5 separate regions of the Homo sapiens genome follow, and regions 2, 3, 4 and 5 are each linked to region 1. Evidence: promoter capture Hi-C in human tissues and cell types (Jung and others, 2019). All regions are on one chromosome and are shown on one strand. The core of a region is centred on a gene start or on the middle of the fragment in contact, and the rest is flanking DNA. Distances in the headings are between cores, read along the strand shown. Region 1 holds the start of INTS9 (integrator complex subunit 9). Region 2 overlaps KIF13B (kinesin family member 13B). Region 3 overlaps KIF13B (kinesin family member 13B). Region 4 overlaps KIF13B (kinesin family member 13B). Region 5 overlaps DUSP4 (dual specificity phosphatase 4).

What was found. The method cuts DNA at HindIII sites, captures the fragments that hold promoters and counts their contacts. A contact is called where the count stands out against the background at its distance.
Region 2: a fragment that was not itself captured here is called in contact with the fragment with the promoter of INTS9 in region 1 in 2 of the 25 tissues and cell types used here (dorsolateral prefrontal cortex and mesenchymal stem cells).
Region 3: a fragment that was not itself captured here is called in contact with the fragment with the promoter of INTS9 in region 1 in 2 of the 25 tissues and cell types used here (IMR-90 fibroblasts and lymphoblastoid cells).
Region 4: a fragment that was not itself captured here is called in contact with the fragment with the promoter of INTS9 in region 1 in 2 of the 25 tissues and cell types used here (IMR-90 fibroblasts and aorta).
Region 5: a fragment that was not itself captured here is called in contact with the fragment with the promoter of INTS9 in region 1 in 2 of the 25 tissues and cell types used here (dorsolateral prefrontal cortex and hippocampus).

What each region holds. Positions count from the first base shown.
Region 1 is chr8:28,888,277-28,891,928 of GRCh38, reverse strand. INTS9 (integrator complex subunit 9) reads left to right here and starts at 1,960. Exons shown (of 17, transcript NM_018250.4): 1 at 1,960-2,055. The coding sequence starts at 2,047. It overlaps HMBOX1 (homeobox containing 1), which reads right to left and starts at 1,534. Exons shown (of 10, transcript NM_001135726.3): 1 at 1,251-1,534. RefSeq lists a silencer at 1,292-1,411 and enhancers at 1,064-1,620, 1,782-1,981, 1,621-2,177. The HindIII fragment of the contact is 5,500 bases long and covers 1-3,652 here.
Region 2 is chr8:29,214,424-29,218,013 of GRCh38, reverse strand. The region is part of intron 2 of KIF13B (kinesin family member 13B); the gene reads left to right. Among named protein-coding and RNA genes, the nearest start is that of KIF13B, 47 kb to the left of the region's middle. The HindIII fragment of the contact is 7,775 bases long and covers 1-3,590 here.
Region 3 is chr8:29,154,894-29,158,136 of GRCh38, reverse strand. It overlaps KIF13B (kinesin family member 13B), which reads left to right. Exons shown (of 40, transcript NM_015254.4): 14 at 2,281-2,411. Among named protein-coding and RNA genes, the nearest start is that of KIF13B, 110 kb to the left of the region's middle. The HindIII fragment of the contact is 4,521 bases long and covers 1-3,243 here.
Region 4 is chr8:29,190,669-29,194,102 of GRCh38, reverse strand. It overlaps KIF13B (kinesin family member 13B), which reads left to right. Exons shown (of 40, transcript NM_015254.4): 4 at 3,046-3,106. Among named protein-coding and RNA genes, the nearest start is that of KIF13B, 71 kb to the left of the region's middle. The HindIII fragment of the contact is 5,738 bases long and covers 1-3,434 here.
Region 5 is chr8:29,337,659-29,341,083 of GRCh38, reverse strand. DUSP4 (dual specificity phosphatase 4) reads left to right here. Exons shown (of 4, transcript NM_001394.7): 2 at 841-986; 3 at 2,583-2,802. Among named protein-coding and RNA genes, the nearest start is that of DUSP4, 11 kb to the left of the region's middle. RefSeq lists an enhancer at 578-872. The HindIII fragment of the contact is 5,003 bases long and covers 1-3,425 here.

The DNA of each region.
Region 1 (3,652 bases), core at 711-3,210:
GTCACATCACTCTACCTTATATGATACATGGGTGATTTTTTTTAAGCTTCAGCGTAAATAAAAACAGTAATCACTTTATACCATTCAACTTTACATAGTGTTATCTTTAATGCCAACTGCATTCTTCCCTTTACTCACCCAATGCTTCTTCACTGTTCCATTCCACCAGCTTTCAGGCAAATGCAAGACAGAACAGGGTGGAGTAGAAGAAAAATACAAGCAGCGCCTTTCGGCGCACCCCCTCTCCCGCAAATAATTTCCAACAGTTCCTCCTGCTACGAAAATAAGTCGCCCTATCTCCAGATACATAACAGACATTCCGTCTCCTTAGTAGACACACACAGACGCGTACACAATCCAGCACTCCCGACCCCCACCCCAGGCCCCCCGAATCTTCAGCAATTATTCATCTAATTCACACGAAGACAAGATACCTCTACCTACTGTTTCGGGGTGAAGGTGGGTGGAGGACGCCTTTCAAAGTAGCCCCAATAGTGTAACCAAAACACGGTTCCGGAATAAAATATTAAGAAACACTTTTCCTTTCCCACCTATCTACCGACTTGAGGATGCAAAAAATCCATCTCCACATCACACCATCTCTACAGTTCTCGTGGCTGGAGTTTGGGGTGGAGATTCGTCCAGGGGAGGGGGCGGAGGCGAGTGGCAGAGTGTGAGCGGGCGACGGGACACAAGCGAGTTGTTGAGCCCGGCCGCCTCGCACCACGTCGCCAGCCCAAACGCCCAGCACCAGGACCTCACGCCCGCCCCTCAGCCCAGGCCCAGAGCGAGCGAGGACTCGCGCTGTCTAACTTCCCATCTACAGACACCGCTCCAAGACGAGCAGAGCACACAAGTACACGTCACACAGTTTAAACACACTTACACACCCCAAACAAACCAACACACCTGCAAATCACCTCACAGTTTCCAGAACTCCACACCGGAGACCCCACCTCCAGGATTCAAACCTTCCGCTCATCGTAGAGGAAACCAGAAGAGTTGGGGGGCAGTCGACGCCTTTCCAGGACCGGACCCCACGAACTGCCCCACCCCACAGCCCGCGTCTGGGTCACCCACTCGGAAGCCCCCTGCTTCCTCCCTCCTCTCAATCCGGCCGCTTACGAGACCCATCCCCAGCGTCCGCTCACTTCCTCCCCAAAACCCCTCCAAAAAAATTGTTTTAAGTGAAGAGAAAGAAGTGAGGAAAGAGACTTGAGGTAGTCCGGCTTCAAAACCGCTCGACTCACCTCAGAATCCTCGCTGAGTTCTCTCCGCCCGGCACAGCCCCCTCCCCAACGTCCCAGTACGAAGGGCTGAGATAGGGAGGAGGGAAGGCGGGAGGGGGAGGGGTGTCTTCCGCGTGGGGCGCCCGTCGGGAGGGGACTGGGGAGGGGTTGAGGCCGGCGCAGGAAGAGGAGAAGGGGGAGGGGAGGCCCCTATCTCCCAGTCTCCCCCTGAAAAACCTCCCTTGTCTCAATCACATCAGACTGACTGTCTTTGTCTGGCTGACAACCGCCATATTGATATCAACAGCCCCTCTCCCACCTGCTGCCGCCGGGCGTCCCTGGGAGTTGTAGTTCCTGCCTCCCCTGAGAAAAATTGCGGAGCCCGGCGCCTAGAGGGCCAAGGGAACTACAACTTCCGGCAAGCCCCGTGCCCATCCGCCTTCCCTTTGGGAGGAGGGAAAGGGGAGTCGGAGCCGTCGGGACTACACATCCCAGAACACCATGGGCCCCAGGCCCGTAAGGAAGACATGATATCATGCTGGGGTGGAGAGGGAGGATGCATTGGCGGCTGGGATGAATTTGAGCTGACGGAAGGAGGCGTTCGGAGAGGAAAGGGAGGAAAAGGAAAGGCGACCACAGTTCCCATGATGCCTGGAGGGGAGACTACATTTCCCATTATTCCCCTGGAAGGGACGTGAGGATGAAAGACTGCAAGTCCCGCGATGCTCTCGGCTGGCAGGTGGCGGAGATTGCACCGGAAGACGCTTCCTGGGTTTGAGGAGTTCAGTGACTGCTATTGAACCACCAAAAGTCCATTATGAAACTGGTGAGTCTTCGCTCCTAGGTCAGAGGGCAAAGGTGATGCTATAACCTTTTGGACCTCTTTTTTTCCTACGTTGGGCAGGGAATCGTCGCACGGGAGGGGTAGCAATTATTGAGCTGGAAAGTGGAGTGGGCTAAGGAAAGCTGCTTTTTGTTGTTGAGAAGGTTTGAATTCCCTCTCCCCCACCCCATCCCTCCCAGGAGGTCTTTTTTCACTCGTTAGTGGGTCTTTTTGTTCAGACAAGAGGTTGACTGTCACAGTCCTTCGCCCATGAACTCTGTGGGCTCTGTTAACCAGGTTTGGACGTCCTGGTTCCCACGTGAGGGTTATAATAGGCTGTTAACAATCCGTTTCCATTCGATTGGCGCTTGAGTATCCTGTCTCCCTACTGTTGTTGAGACTGGCTAGATTTAAGCAGACAGTAAAAAACATCCAGCAGAACGTAATCACTTATTAAATATCCTGTTATATAGACTCCTCACTGCCCTTGGAATTCAGGACGAGGTCAGAGTGTGGAGAAGTTGAGTCTTAAACCCTGCATGGGATTTAGATGGGCAGAGAAGTGTTATATGGTATTCCATTCTAAGACTGTAGGGACTTCATGAGCCAAGGCTGAATGAAGCGTGCTCGGTATACCTGAAGTCTTAACATCACACAGCTCAAGCACCTGGTTCATGGAGGCTCCTCAGACCTTTGATTTGAGCCATTTGACTCATTGTGCACACAAGTCTAACTAGTTTATTCCAACTCGATTCAATTAGTTAATAACATAGTGTAGAAAGGCAGGTGTGAAACACTGTTTCTCAACCTTTTAAAACCCATATTTGTGCAGCCAAGTTATTGTCAAGCTTTACTTGAGGCAGGAGAATCGCTTGAACCCGGGAGGCAGAGGTTGCAGTAAGCCAAGATCGCGCCACTGCACTCCAGCCTTGCAACAGCGCGAGACTCTGTCTCAAAAAAAAAAAAAGTTTATTTTTTACCATTTATATAATTATCTGAACATGCTTTGCCAAACCACACAACACACCTACCCTCATCTTGATAATCATTGTGCTACAGGCATATATTCTGCAAAGCCAGCTGTTTTCTGCGAAGTCAGAGAAAGTATTAAAAGTGGATTCAATTCCGAAATTGTCCCCGTATAAATCTGTTTATATAAGGGGAAGGATGCGGGTCACTAAACCTTGAGAATAGCAACTTACCCCTGGGTCAGTGTGTTACACATTTAATAATGCAGAATTAAAAGTCATAGCCGTTGCCCTACAGAAGCATGCAACCTAAGAAGAAGATAGAAAAGTAAACCAAAGTTATTATTTATTTATTTAGAGACAGGGTCTGGCTTTGTGGGGCCCAGACTGAAGTGCAGTGGCGCGTTCTCAGCTCGCTGCTACCTCCACCTTTCGGACTCAAGCGATCCTCTCGCCGCGTCAGTCTCCCCATATAGCTGGGAATACAGGCGCGCACCACTGCACCCTGCTTATTTTTTTTGTAGAAATGGGGTTTAACCATGTTGCCCAGGCTGGTCTCAAACTCCTGGGTTCAAGGTATCTGCCCACCTCAACCTTCCAAAGTGCTGGAATTACAGGCATGAGCCACCATG
Region 2 (3,590 bases), core at 134-2,633, 330 kb before region 1:
TAAGATGTTCAAAGGGGAATCAGTTGACACCCATACTAAGTAGAGAGCAGAGGTGGTTTTAGGAAAAGCACCAAACTCTCACACTGAATATTAGTGAGTGATAGAGCTGATTAATATGGAAAATTATAATGAACCATCTTGTGGGGGGGTGTCCTGATAGCCCCCCACACTGGAAAAAACCATGACATTGCAAATTAATTTCTAGTTGGTGGAGTATGGTGGGGGAGGTTTTGAACTGGGCACCTTAGTGCTTTGTCTTCTGGACCTGCTGTTATTCTGGAGTTTTCTCCAAACTAGTTCACCAAAAAGTAACATAAGACATTTGCATCATCTTGCTGCTGTAGCTAAAAGATGTTCTCTCTTACTTTTGAAAGAAATTCTTTCTCTTTGTTCAGCTCCCCTTTCTTCCCCCTCCTAGTTTTGAACTGAGATTATCACAAGGATCAGTGAGATAGAAGAAATAAATAATAAAGACACTAACACTGAATGCTTATTATGTGCCAGGCACTGTTCTAATCTTCATAGCAATCCCATGAAATAGGCTCTCTTGTTGGCTACATTTTATAGAGCAGGAAACTGAAGCCTGGAGAAGTTAGATTAGTTGCCCAAGGTCACATAGTAAGTGGTGGGGCTGGGATTCACAACCAGGCAATTCAGTTCCTGAGCCCAGTCTTCGCCACTGTGTTTTCCTCTGTCTCATTTCACCTTAGTTACGGATAAAGCTGTAAGAGAAAATGGCTTTCTGTCTGTTGGCCAAGTAGGCTTGCTGACCCCTCACCCTTGAGTGACACACTTAGCAGGCACAGGCAGGCCGGACAGTTGCAGGCCTCCTCTACAGGGTGGGGGAGCACAGCCTGTGTGTACTCATTTCCTTCTCTTGAGTACCACTAATTTGATAGTTCACGTATCCTCTACTAAGAGGTAGAGTGAGACAGCTTAGGGACATCAGAAGTACTACTTTCGGTTCTTCCACATGGAAACATGAGGAACGAGGAATAAGTATTCTTTCCCTAACACTTACAGTGCACTTAAGACAAAGTTTTTTTTTTTTTTGGACTGAATATACGTCGATGGACACAGGCCCAGATATGGAGAAAGGGCAGGTTTCCTCTAGGCAAGATTTGCACGGGGAACCTGAAGCTCACATAGCTTCAGCCCTGCGCCACAGCTTAGCCTTAGTCACATAGGTTTCCCTAGGTCATAGCCCAGTCTCAGGCTGCCCACTTTATTTGAAGGCAAGGGAAAAACAACAGTCCAAATAAGATAATTTGAAACAAGCATCTTTTCATTTAGTTTTCTGCTACAAAGTTGTCTTTAATTTCTTCTCCTGTATCATTTGCCATGGGTGGGAGGGCAAAATATTAAAGTAGAAAGAACATAGTTGTATTTTTTTTTTAATTAAAAAAATCTTTTTTGAGACAGAGTCTCACTTTGTCACCCAGGTTGGAGTACAGTGGCAGGATCTCGGCTCACTGCAACCTTTTACTCCCAGGTTCAAATGATTCTCCTGCCTCAGCCTCCCAAGTAGCTGGGACTACAGGCACCCGCCACCATGCCCAGCTAAATATTTTGTGTTTTTAGTAGAGGTGGGGTTTCACCATGTTGGCCAGGCTGGTTTTGAACTCCTGACCTCAAGTGATCTGCCTGCCTTGGCCTCCCAAAGTGCTAGGATTACAGGCATCAGCCACTGCGCCCGGCCTAGTACGTGGCTTTAGAATGAGAGACCTAGGTTTGAATCTAGCTTTGTTACTGAACAAATTATTTAACCTGTTTGTGATATGCCTTCCTTATTACTCTACAAAGTGGAGAGGATAAGACCTACCTTGTAGGGTTGGTGTATTAAAGTGTACCAGGTATTTGACGTTTAGCAGTTTAAAAAAGGTAGCCTCTATTATTATTATTAAAGCAATTAAAAATAGAGACTTAAAAAATAATTTAACAACTTTAAACGAGCAGGTGAACAGTTTTTTCAGGCAAATCTCCCTTCATCTCCGCTGGGAAAGAGGTGATCAGTATTGGGTGTATTGTCTGTTTATCTACATACACACCCATGTATGAAGATGAATACACAAAACAAATTTTCAGATATACCTCCTATAGGCAATACTAGTTACCTGTATGTGTGTGCAATTTAGTTTTAAAATTACAATTCATATCCTCATTTACTTTTTTCCACCAAGATTATAAATTTGCTTTCAAAGCTTTTAATACTTTAAAACTTTTTGTCGTTGTCCTTCAAGCATTCAAAGATTCCCGTTGCTTTCTTCAAAACATCTTTAGCTTAGTTGACAAATACCATAAACTTGGAAGGCATACTCTTATTAAAAAGGGTCTCACCTTGTCGTCCCTGCTGGAGTGCAGTGGTGCCATCACGGCTGACTGCAGCCTCGACCTACTAGGTTCATACAATCCTCCTGCCTCAGCCTCCTGAGTAGCTGGGACAACAGACGCATGCCATCGTGCCTGGCTAATTAAAAAAGAATTTTTGGTAAAGACAGGGTCTCCCTACGTTGCTCAAGCTGGTCCTTGAATTCTTGAGCTCAAGCGATCCTCCCTCCTCAGCCTCCTAAAGTGCTGGCATTATAGTTGTGAGCCACCACACCTGGTCGGCATACTGTTCTATAGAGTTGGTTCGATCGATCCTGGGACATGAAATAATGAAAGAATTATTTTTTCTTCTCTAAGACAGTTCCTATTGCCTCCCTCCCTACTCCAGGTGTTGCCCCAAATTTGCCATATTTTGCTTGTTTGTTAGGTAGGTTGGAAAAGTCTTTTCTGCCCTCTATCTTCCCTCCCCTTCCCCACATACCACTCACTCTACTTGGAGGCTAGAACATGTTTCCTCCAGGATGTTAGCCTAACTCAGAAGACAGGGCTTCATGAGGACGGGAAAGAGCAGGGAAACAAACATAATGCAACTCATGCAGGGAGCGTGGAGCCACCGGAGCAACAGGTCCTGGAGAGAAAATGCAGTCCTGATGATGTCACAGCCCTGAACAGTTTTGATTTTGTCTCTCCAGCAGAGTATTATTTAGAGGTAAATATTCCTTCTGCCTTGGTTTGGATCACCACTCTATCACAGTCATGCGCCCCATAATGATATTTTAGTCAACAATGGACTGCTCATATGAAGGTGGTCCCATCAAATTATGAAGGAGCTGAAAAATTCCTGTCACTTAGTGGCATCACAGCCATTGGTAAAGTTGTAGTGCTATGCATTACTGATGCATTTATGGTGAGGCTGGTGAAAGCAAACTACTTCACTGCCAGTTATATAAAAGTCTAGCACATACAATTATGCATGGTATATAATACTTGATAATCATCATAAATGACTATGTTACTGGTTTCTGTATTTACTACAGTAGACTTTTTATCATTATTTTAGTGTATATGCCTACTACCCATTTTTAAAAAGGTTAATTGTAAAACAGCCTCAGGCAGGTCTTTCAGGAGTTACTACAAAAGAAGGCACTGTTATCACAGGAGATGACAGCTCCATGCCTGTTACTGCCCCTGAAGACCTTCCAGTGGGACAAGACGTGGAGGTGGAAGACGGTGATACTGATGATCCTGACCCTGTGTGGGCC
Region 3 (3,243 bases), core at 389-2,888, 270 kb before region 1:
AAAGCTGAGATAGAAACGGTAAGAAATGACCCATGTCAGGATCAGGGGAAGAACATTTCAGACGGAGGAAACAGCTAGTAAAAGGCAGTAGGATGGAAATAGGCTCAGTGTGCTCAAAGAACAGATGGGAGGCCGATGTAGCTGGCACATGCTCTGTGAGGGGAAGATGGTGAGTGTGAGGGTCAGAGACAGGCAGGGACAGGTTGTAGAATGCTTTGTAAGCCCGGGTAAGAATTTGGGCTTTATTGGAAGTTCAAAGAGAAGCCACTAGAAGGTTTTATTCTTACTTTTTTTTTTTTTTTTTTTGAGGCAGGGTCTTGTTCTGTCACCCAGGTGAGAGTGCAGTGGTACGATTATGGCTTATTGCAGCCTCAATCTCCTGGGCTCAAGTAATCTTCCTGCCTCATTTTTATATTTATTTATTTATTTATTGAGACGGAGTCTTGCTCTTTCGCCCAGGCTGGAGTGCAGTGGCACGATCTCAGCTCACTGCAACCTCCACCTCCCAGGTTCAAGCCACTCTCCTGCCTCAGCCTCCCGAGTAGCTATGATTATAGGCATGTGCCACCACACCTGGCTAATTTTTTTGTATTCTTAGTAGAGACAAGGTTTCACCATGTTGGCCAGGCTGGGCTTGAACTCCTGACTTTGAGTGATCCACCCACCTCAGCCTCCCAAAGTGCTGGGATCACAGGTATGAGCCACCGCACCTGGCCACAATTTTTTTTTTTTTTTTTTTTTTTTGGTAGAGACGAGGTCTCACTGTGTTGCCCGGGCTGGTCTTGATCTCCTAGGTTCAAGCGATTCTCCTGCCTTGGCTTCCCAAATTGCTGGGATTACAGGTGTAAGCTACCATGCCCACTCTTAGAAGGTTTTAAATAGGGGATGGTGTGACCAGCTGTTGTGGCAGGAGTGGAAGGGAGTGGCATGCAATGGAGACACAGTAGGAAGCTCCTGTATCCACAGGCAAGAGATCCTGGAGGCTGAATCTAGGATGTAGTCATGGAGGTGGGGATCACAAGCTTATTCTTGATAGACCTTGGAGGAAAAATCTGTAAGGTTTTCCCTGATTGACATGGGGTGGGTATGGGCTTGTAAGAGAAAGAAAGAGGACTCAAGAATTATATCTAAGCTTTTCAGTTGACTGACTGGTGGTGGTAGTGCCATCCATTATTATTGGAGAAGGAAATAGACTTCTGTTGGGTTAGGGGAGATGGGAACAAGAGTTTAGCTTTGGCGCTTATTCCATTTGATATATCTTCAGACATCCAAGTTGTGTCAAGTAGGCTGAGTAGGCAGAAAATAATAGTGGCTGAGGCTGGGCACAGTCGCTCACACATGTCATCCCAGTACTTCAGGAGGGTGAAGTGGAAGGATTGCTTGAGCCCAGGAGTTTGAGATCAACCTGAGCAACATAGTGAGACCCTGTCTCTACAAAAAAAAAAAAAAAAAAAAAATTAGTTGGTCAAGGTGGTGCCTGCCTGTGATCTCAGCTACTCAGAGGCTGAGACAGGAAGATTGCTTGAGCCCAAGAAGGTGAGGTTTAGTGAGCATGGATAGTGTCTCTGCACTCCAGCCTGGGTGACAGAAAAAGACCCTGTCTCAAAAATAAATAAATAAATAAAAAATAAGTGACTAAGACTGCGATAGTGGTTGTGGAGGTGGGGAAAAAAACGGAACTAAAGTATGTAGCTCTAGGGTGGTGATAGAGATGTAGTTTATTTGTAGATGGCATTTAAAACCATGGGAGTAGGTGAGTTAGTCTAGGTCAGGGTCAACCAACTGCTTTTCACAGGCCAAATCTCGCTCCCTTCCTGTTTTTGTTTCAACCATGCCTGGCTTCATTTGCTTTTAAAAAATCTTTTAGGCCAGGCATGGTGACTCACACCTGTAATCCCAGCACTTTGAGAGGCCAAGACAGGTGGATCACTTGAGGTCAGGAGTTTGAGACCAGCCTGGCCAACATGGTGAAACCCTGTCTGTACTAAAAATACAAAAAAATGAGCTGGGCATGGTGGTGCATGCCTGTAATCCCAGCTACTCGGGTGGCTGAGGCAGGAGAATCGCTTGAACCTGGGAGGCGGAGGTTGCAGTGAGCTGAGATTGCACCATTGCCTTCCAGCATGGGGGATAGAGCAAGACTCTGTCTCAAAAATAAAATAAAAATAAAAAAAATTTTCGCAAAGGTAATAGGACAATATAAGAGGGCTCAGTGTAAATGATTTCAATTGTGTATATGTAAGAATACAGTATTAATCAGTGAATTTGGTTTTTTCTTAGGAACATACATTGATAGGGTCAGCAAATTCCCAAGATATCCAACTGTGCGGCATGGGAATTCTTCCTGAACACTGTATTATAGACATCACGTCAGAAGGCCAGGTTATGCTGACTCCTCAGAAGAACACCAGGTAACATACTTGAATTAGTGTTCATATCACAAGAGTTTTTCAGAGGAAGAAAGTACTCTAGTGGCAACAGTGGCCTTTGTTGCTTTTAAGTTGACCACATTAAGTAATCCAGTTGGTTGGGCGGGCCCCTTACATTTAGCTTTAATGCCTCTCACACCCATTCCTTCCTCTCTATACCCACTGCCATGGCCTTACGTATTTAGGCCCTCATCAAGTCTTGATCAGAGCCCCTGCCAACACCACGAGCTGCCTCCTGGTTCACTCACCACAGCCCTAGAAGGCTTTCCTCTGTTTGTGACAGAAAATCCCTTATAACCCCCCAGTTTATCTCCTCCTCCTCAGCACCTGCCAATCCTTTGACCTGCTAACTCCTGTTGGGTCTGCAGGGTTAAGTGCTGCCATGTTCTCCTGTGGGGAGTCACTGTTTGGTCTGAATGCACTGCCCTTAAGAGGTATCGGACCATCGCCCTGTTGTGGCAGTGCTTCTTAGTGTCTGCCTGTGGGCTGTGAACCCTTATTACCCCATTAGACCATGAGCTGCTTGAGGACAAGGGCCTTTCTTTTTTTGATTCTCCATTCCTGGCGCATAATATGAGACTAGTACACAGGAACTTAATACACCATGGAGGAATGAAGGGGCTCCAAATTTTATGAATGGCACGTTTGTCACTTTGTTTCCTTCAGCTATAGAGCTGTTATCCCCTGTTACAGAGTTGGAAGTATAACAGTCTGTAACTGTTAGAGACAGTGGTTAACTGAATTATGTTGACCTTTCAAATGCTAATTTGTTTCATTTTATGATGTCAAAAAATCATTAATATCACTGATTTTA
Region 4 (3,434 bases), core at 40-2,539, 300 kb before region 1:
CCTGTAATCCCAGCACTTTGGGAGGCGGAGGCCAGCGGATCATGAGGCCAGGAGATTGAGACCATCCTGGCTAACACAGTGAAACCCTGTCTCTACTAAAAATACAAAAAAAAAAAAAAAAGCCAGGCGTGGTAGCGGGCGCCTGTAGTCCCAGCTACTCAGGAGGCTGAGGCAGGAGAATGGCGTGAACCTGGGAGGTGGAGCTTGCGGTGAGCTGAGATCACGCCACTGCACTCCAGCCTGGGCGACAGAGCGAGACTCCGTCTCAAAAAAAAGTAAAAATGTAAAAAGCAGTACAGTATGACAACTATTTACATAGCATCTACTTTGTCTTAGGTGTTTTAAGTAATCAAGAGATGATTTGAAGTATATGGGAGGATATGTGTGGGTTTTATGCAAATACTACACCATTTTATATAAGGACTTGCACATCTGTGGATTTTGGTATTCATGGGAGGTCCTGGAAGCAGTCCCACTCAGGATACTGAGGGATGACTGTATACACATGTGATAGGGCTTTTGAAGTGAGAACTAAGCTTACAAGAATCAGGATGGTTTTTACTTAGCCTTATTAAGAACAGAATTAATTAAATAAAATTATGGAGATAAGCGTGGAAAGCTAGAACAGGAGAAACTTCGTTTGAGCTCCACATTTTATTTACTCCTACTCTGCTGTAATGATTCTCACTATGGGTGACACCTGGAGTTTGCAAGGCAGCTCCCCCCAGTTTGATGCCCAGTCCTTTGGGGCCATCTTCCATCCTCCTCCTTTTGCTCCTCTGTGTTTGAAAATGGCTTAGTGAGCCACCACTGCTGATAGATATACGTTTTAGCTTTGGAAAAACATGGAGGGTGAGCAGTGTGTAACACAACACTGCAGCTGGATGATGTCTTCTGGGCCCAAGGGCTCTCAGGGGCTGTCAGCCGCTGGGGGTCTGCTTTCACTTCCTGGCCTCGCTTCCTTCTCACAGCCCCATCCAGGGAACAGGTGTCTCCCCTGCCTGCTGTTTCACACAGAGATGCAGGTGTGCCGATCCTCACCTGTCCAGAGGTGCTGAGCCAGTCGTCCTCTCGGTTGCTGCCAGGGTTATCTGCCTCCCCCTTTAGTTGCCCTTCTGGTACCTCCCAGAACTGCTCACTGGCTTTGCAGCCTGTGCTCTCCCTGCAGGCCCCCACCCTTACCCCCATCAGTTTCATTGGAACTATTTTTTCAGGAGTTTCTCAATTCTGATCCAGGCACAAGCAAGCACTCTTGGTTTCAAAACCTTGTTCTTTTTTCCCCCTTCTCTTCCTTTTTGGCAATTTCCCCACTTCCCCCATCGCCTGTCGTTTTGAGTTAATTTTAGCTGGGTGATGGATATCAGTATGCATTATTAATTTACCATCTTAACCTAATTTTCTTTCTTAAAAAAATTAACCTTTTAGACTTCTGGTCCAGATAATCTTGTGAGTTTACACAGAAACATTCTCCTGCCAACATCAAAATTATAGCAGAGATAGATAAAATATTTTAGAATGTGCGAATCATGTAATCAAACTCAAAAACAAATTTAGACTGGGCATGGTGGCTCACAGCTGTAATCTCAGTACTTGGGAGGCTGAGGCTAGAGGATTGCTTGAGGCCAGGAGTCTGAGACCAGCCTGGGCAACATAGTGAGACCCCATCTCTACACAAAACTAGAAAAACACAACAACAACATATATAACTTCAAGGACCAGCAGTAAGCGAGGGCTGAAGTGACATATTTCCAGGGCTTTGGAATCAGACCAGGTGCCTGGAGGTGATTGGAAGTTCAACTCTTGCCGACTAATGGGGGCACTGGTGTATGGTTGGGGACTGGAGCCAGGCTCACCATGTGAAAACTGATTTGGGCGAGCCTTCTCTGTGAGTGAAAGCTTACAGTCAGTTTTTGGCCACCAACATTGAGCTAATGTCTGTGTTAATAGGAAGGGATGGAGACATTGGGCCTTGAGAAGACCCAAAATCTGGGCTTCAGTAATGGAAATGACAGCATAAACTAGTCATGGAAAGGTGGCCATCAGGAGAGGAAAAAATAAGCAATCATGTAAACCATAAAATAAACACTCCCTGCTAAGATGTACCTGCAAACTAACATGCAAACCATCATCAGGAAGCATAGCAACAGACTCCCAAAGTGGGAGAATGTGACAAAATGTGAACCGAGATACATTTTAAAACAATTGCACTTAAAATCTTTACGGAGATAAAAATCACAAAACACAAGTAAGTAGATTTCAAACTGACAGAAATCGAAAAAGTGAAAGATGCAGTCAGTGAAAAATTTGCCTTTGCTTAGTTGGTTTAAAAAGAAATAATTAGTGAAAAAGAAGCTTTTCAAACAGTGCAAAAGAACTATGTGATATTCTAGAAAGTGGTGATAAGGTGAAAGATCAAAACAGATCATCTGTAAGATCCCACCAAGTAGCATTTTAATACAGATTGTTCCTGCTTTTTATGCATATAGTTTTTTGGTACAAATATGGAATCATACTCTAGACTTTTATAACTTTTTCATTAACATAAACTTTTTTTAAATTAGTAAGTCTTCTATACCCTCAAATCTATACTTGCACATGGGCATGTCATAATTTATGTAAACATTCTGCTATTTTAAGCTATTTTGGACATGCTATAGTGAGCATCTTTAAATGTTATTTAAAAAATATCTTTTTCTTTGACTACAAAAATAAAAATATTGAAAAAATATAAAAACATGAAACAGATCACTAATTTCGCTGCAAAAAAATAAACTATAGATGTAATTCTGTGTGTGTGACTGTAGGTGCATGTGTGTGTGCAATAGCCATTTTATTACACATTTTGTGAATAGTTTTCCATGTAAAATATAGAGTCATATCACCTATAGCATGTTTAGTTCTCATTGTAAGCCTCTACATACATAATTAATTCCCATTGTATGACAGTAAGTTGTTTTATTTCACTATTATGAACAGTTCTATCAGTTATGGTTTATAAGTAATGTTGAGGTTTTCTTAACACACACTTATGTTCATTTTCAACAGGTGTTTGCTTATGATCATTGTTTCTGGTCTATGGATGAATCTGTCAAAGAAAAGTATGCAGGTAATAGAATCCAGCATCCTGTCAACTACTGATGGTGTAGAAGAGGGGTTCAGTATTTTTTCCCTTACACGATTGCTTGGCAAACCCCCCAAACTGTGTGTTTCCTCTGCTGTCACACCACAATAACAGTCATCAACACAGAAGATGACTTAATGTGACCAAATGTTGGGGGAGTTTTCCCTGCACCCCAAGCGGCAGACACTGGCTGGGTGTCCTCTAACTCAGTTCCGATGCTCTCTACCTGGGGACAGCGTCAGATCCACAGACTGAGGGCTCAGTCCCACAAGACCGCTCCCTCCTTCCCACCAGCGCAGGTCCAGGCCTCTAG
Region 5 (3,425 bases), core at 101-2,600, 450 kb before region 1:
CAAGAAAGCCAGAGATAGGGCTTGAAAGGTTGTCTTTTTGGATGGCCTCCCTGTGGCCTCTCCCTGTATCCCACCTGCCTCCACCCCTCCTAGATAGGAGCACTCACCCTACCCCAGCTCAGCTGGCCATTTATCATCATCTTCTTTTTTTATTTAAAAGATCTCCCTTCTCTGGAAGATGATCCCACAGATAACCATTCCAGGGCTTACCCACTCTCAGGTCAGGAAATACTCCCTTGCCCCAAACCTGTACATAGCATGAGGGGTTTATTTAGATTTAAGCCCGTTTTCCTCTTGTTCTGGTCTCTTGGTGACGGAACAGCTATTCATGAGGACGTGCAATGGACATCTGTTCCATTGCTGAGATCCAGAAGAGTTTGTACCAGGGTCATTTTTTCCCTTCTTTCTCACATTGGAGAACCTCCCCTGAGGAAGGGCTGGAATCAGGGGTGGCAGGTGTCTCTACAGGTACTTAGTGTCCTTGGAAGCCCAGCGTGACCTTTGCTTCTCTATTTTGTCATTGTCCTGAGGAGCTACTCCACAGTCACTTCTGCACATCCCCCTGCACGTCTTCCTTTGTATGTCTACCTCTCTAACCCAAGTCTTGTCCATAAAGCTTATCCTTCCAGCTTTGCTGCAGTCCTGACGAGTGTGTCCTCTGCATCTCTGGAAACCACTCCATGGCCATTCTCTAGGTCCACAGCGCCACCTAGTGGCCAATATGGAGCACGCCAGCCCCTGCCTTCCTAGCAGTCCGCCTGAGTCTGTAGGAGTCGAGTTCTTTCTGACTTCCTGCTGGCTTAGTGACCCCATTAACCTGAGCTTCTTTCTCCTTTACAGGCGGCTATGAGAGGTTTTCCTCCGAGTACCCAGAATTCTGTTCTAAAACCAAGGCCCTGGCAGCCATCCCACCCCCGGTTCCCCCCAGTGCCACAGAGCCCTTGGACCTGGGCTGCAGCTCCTGTGGGACCCCACTACACGACCAGGTAGACTCGGGGGGCAGGGCTTGGAAGTGGGGGGCAGGAACAGCGTAGGGGCCAGTGGATGCCTTCTTTTCAGAGTTCTGACGGTGTTTTTTGTCTTTGCTTTTGAGACAGTCTTGCTCTGTCACCCAGGAGTGCAGTGGTGTGATCATAGCTTACTGCAGCCTCGAACTCCTGGGCTCAAGGGATCCTCCCTGGTAGCTGGGACTACAGGTGGCACTACCATGCCTGGCTAATTTTAAAAGGTTTTTGGTAGAGATGGGGGGGGGGGGTCTTGCTATGTTGCCCAGGCTGGTCTTGAACTCCTGGCCTCAAGTGATCCTCCTGCTTTGGCCTCCCAAAGTGTTGGGATCACAGGCGTGAGCCACTGCATCCAATCCTGAGATTTTTTTAAGTCTTTGAATGTTATGCCTCAATTTGGGGAGAATGCGGTGAACCCGGAGTATTGGGGTGGGATGTTAGGTAGGACCTATTTACTTCTTGGAAATCTTCCCCTTCCCTCTCTAAATATCCTCCTAAGAAAAAAGTCTAAAGACATGACTCCCTGGCTTGGCCTCTAACGTCGTGTCCGGACAAGTGAGGAGGCCTCCAGAAGCCCTGGGGGACCTGCTCTCTGGGAAGCTGAGGTCATTCTCCTCTGAAGTAGCAGGCCATGAAATACATCTCAGTCCCCGACAGGCAGGCTGCTCCCACGTATCAGCCGAATGAACATAGATGGTCACCCACCCTCCCTCCAAGAAAACCTGCTTGAGCCACTGTGTTTCTTATAAGCCCACCCTCCAGCCCTTTCAGTTAGATGGACTCTGCTGCCCACATCTCATGTGCTAAATTTAAGCCACTGTTGCCTCATTTTGCCAAGATCCTCTCTCTTGTCTGTGTGGCCATGAGGGCATCAGCTTATTTATTTGTTTATTTTTAGAGACAGAGTCTCACTCTGTTACCCAGGCTTGAGTCCTGTGGCGCAATCATAGCTCACTGCAGCTTCAAAGTCCTGGGCTCAAATGATCCTCCCATTTCAGCCTCCCAAGCAACTGAGACTACAGGTGTGCACCATCATGCCAGCTTCATTGTTTGAGAGATGAGGTCTCACTGTGTTGCCCATGCTGGTCTTGGAACTCCTGGCTCACATGATCCTGCCACCTCAGCCTCCTAAAGTGCTGAGATTACAGGTGTGAGCCACTGCACACCTGTTTTTGATATGCCCAGTGAATACATATCAAAACAAATAAGTATCTAAACCACACAGCAAATGGCTTGATGATTAGCAGATATAAACTCAGTGTCACAGATGGTGCCATAAGGCCGGCATTGTCCTGCCGCTTATTTTGCCATGGGGGAGGTGCAGGAGAGTCCCACAAGACTTTACCTGCCCTGGCCTCTCTGCTCACAAGTAGAGGGCAAAGGCTGGAGAAGTCCCACTGGGCCTATCACCCCTCCAAGAGTTCCAGGAGGCTACAGGGGGAGGCTGGGAGGGCCAGGCCCAGCAGGCATTCTCCCTGGGTTTGGAAAGGAAAGCTCTTCTCAGACAAGCTTCCACTCCCTGTGCCAAGCACTTTACCCTCATGTCATTCAGGGGCCTTTGTTTCCCTTTCTGTGCAGGGGGGTCCTGTGGAGATCCTTCCCTTCCTCTACCTCGGCAGTGCCTACCATGCTGCCCGGAGAGACATGCTGGACGCCCTGGGCATCACGGCTCTGTTGAATGTCTCCTCGGACTGCCCAAACCACTTTGAAGGACACTATCAGTACAAGTGCATCCCAGTGGAAGATAACCACAAGGCCGACATCAGCTCCTGGTTCATGGAAGCCATAGAGTACATCGGTAGGCTGGCCCTGCTCTGGGGTTCCTGGGTTTGAGGGCGGGTGGGAAGGATAAGGAACCCCTGTAAGCCTGGGTTGAAGGTGGACATTGGAGGCACTGAATCCAAGGGTCCCCATTCCCCCTCTTCCTCATTGGGAAGGCTTATACATTGGATGTTGGGTTGGGAGGGAGGAGGGAAGATGGACCTACACACAGGCTTAGCTTGCAGAGCCAGTCCCCTTCCCCTTGCATGGCTTCAGTGCCTAGATGGTAAGAGTTTTTGGACGGGGAGGAAGACACAAGGAGCATTGAGTCATAGTTTTTATTTTATTTCTATTTATTTATTTATTTTGAGACAGAGCCTTGCTCTGTTGCCCAGGCTGGAGTGCAGTGGCGCCATCTCAGCTCACTGCAACCTCCGCTTCTGGGGTGCAAGTGATTCTCCTGCCTCAGCCTCTGGAGTAGCTGGGACTACAAGTGCACCACCACGCCCAGCTAATTTTTGTATTTTTGTAGAGACAGTTTCATCATATTGCCCAGGCTAGTCTTGAACTCCTGAGCTCAAGTTATCCACCCTCCTTGGCCTCCCAAAGCGCTGGGATTACAGGAGTGAGCCACCACCCTGGACCCCACTGTTTTGTTTC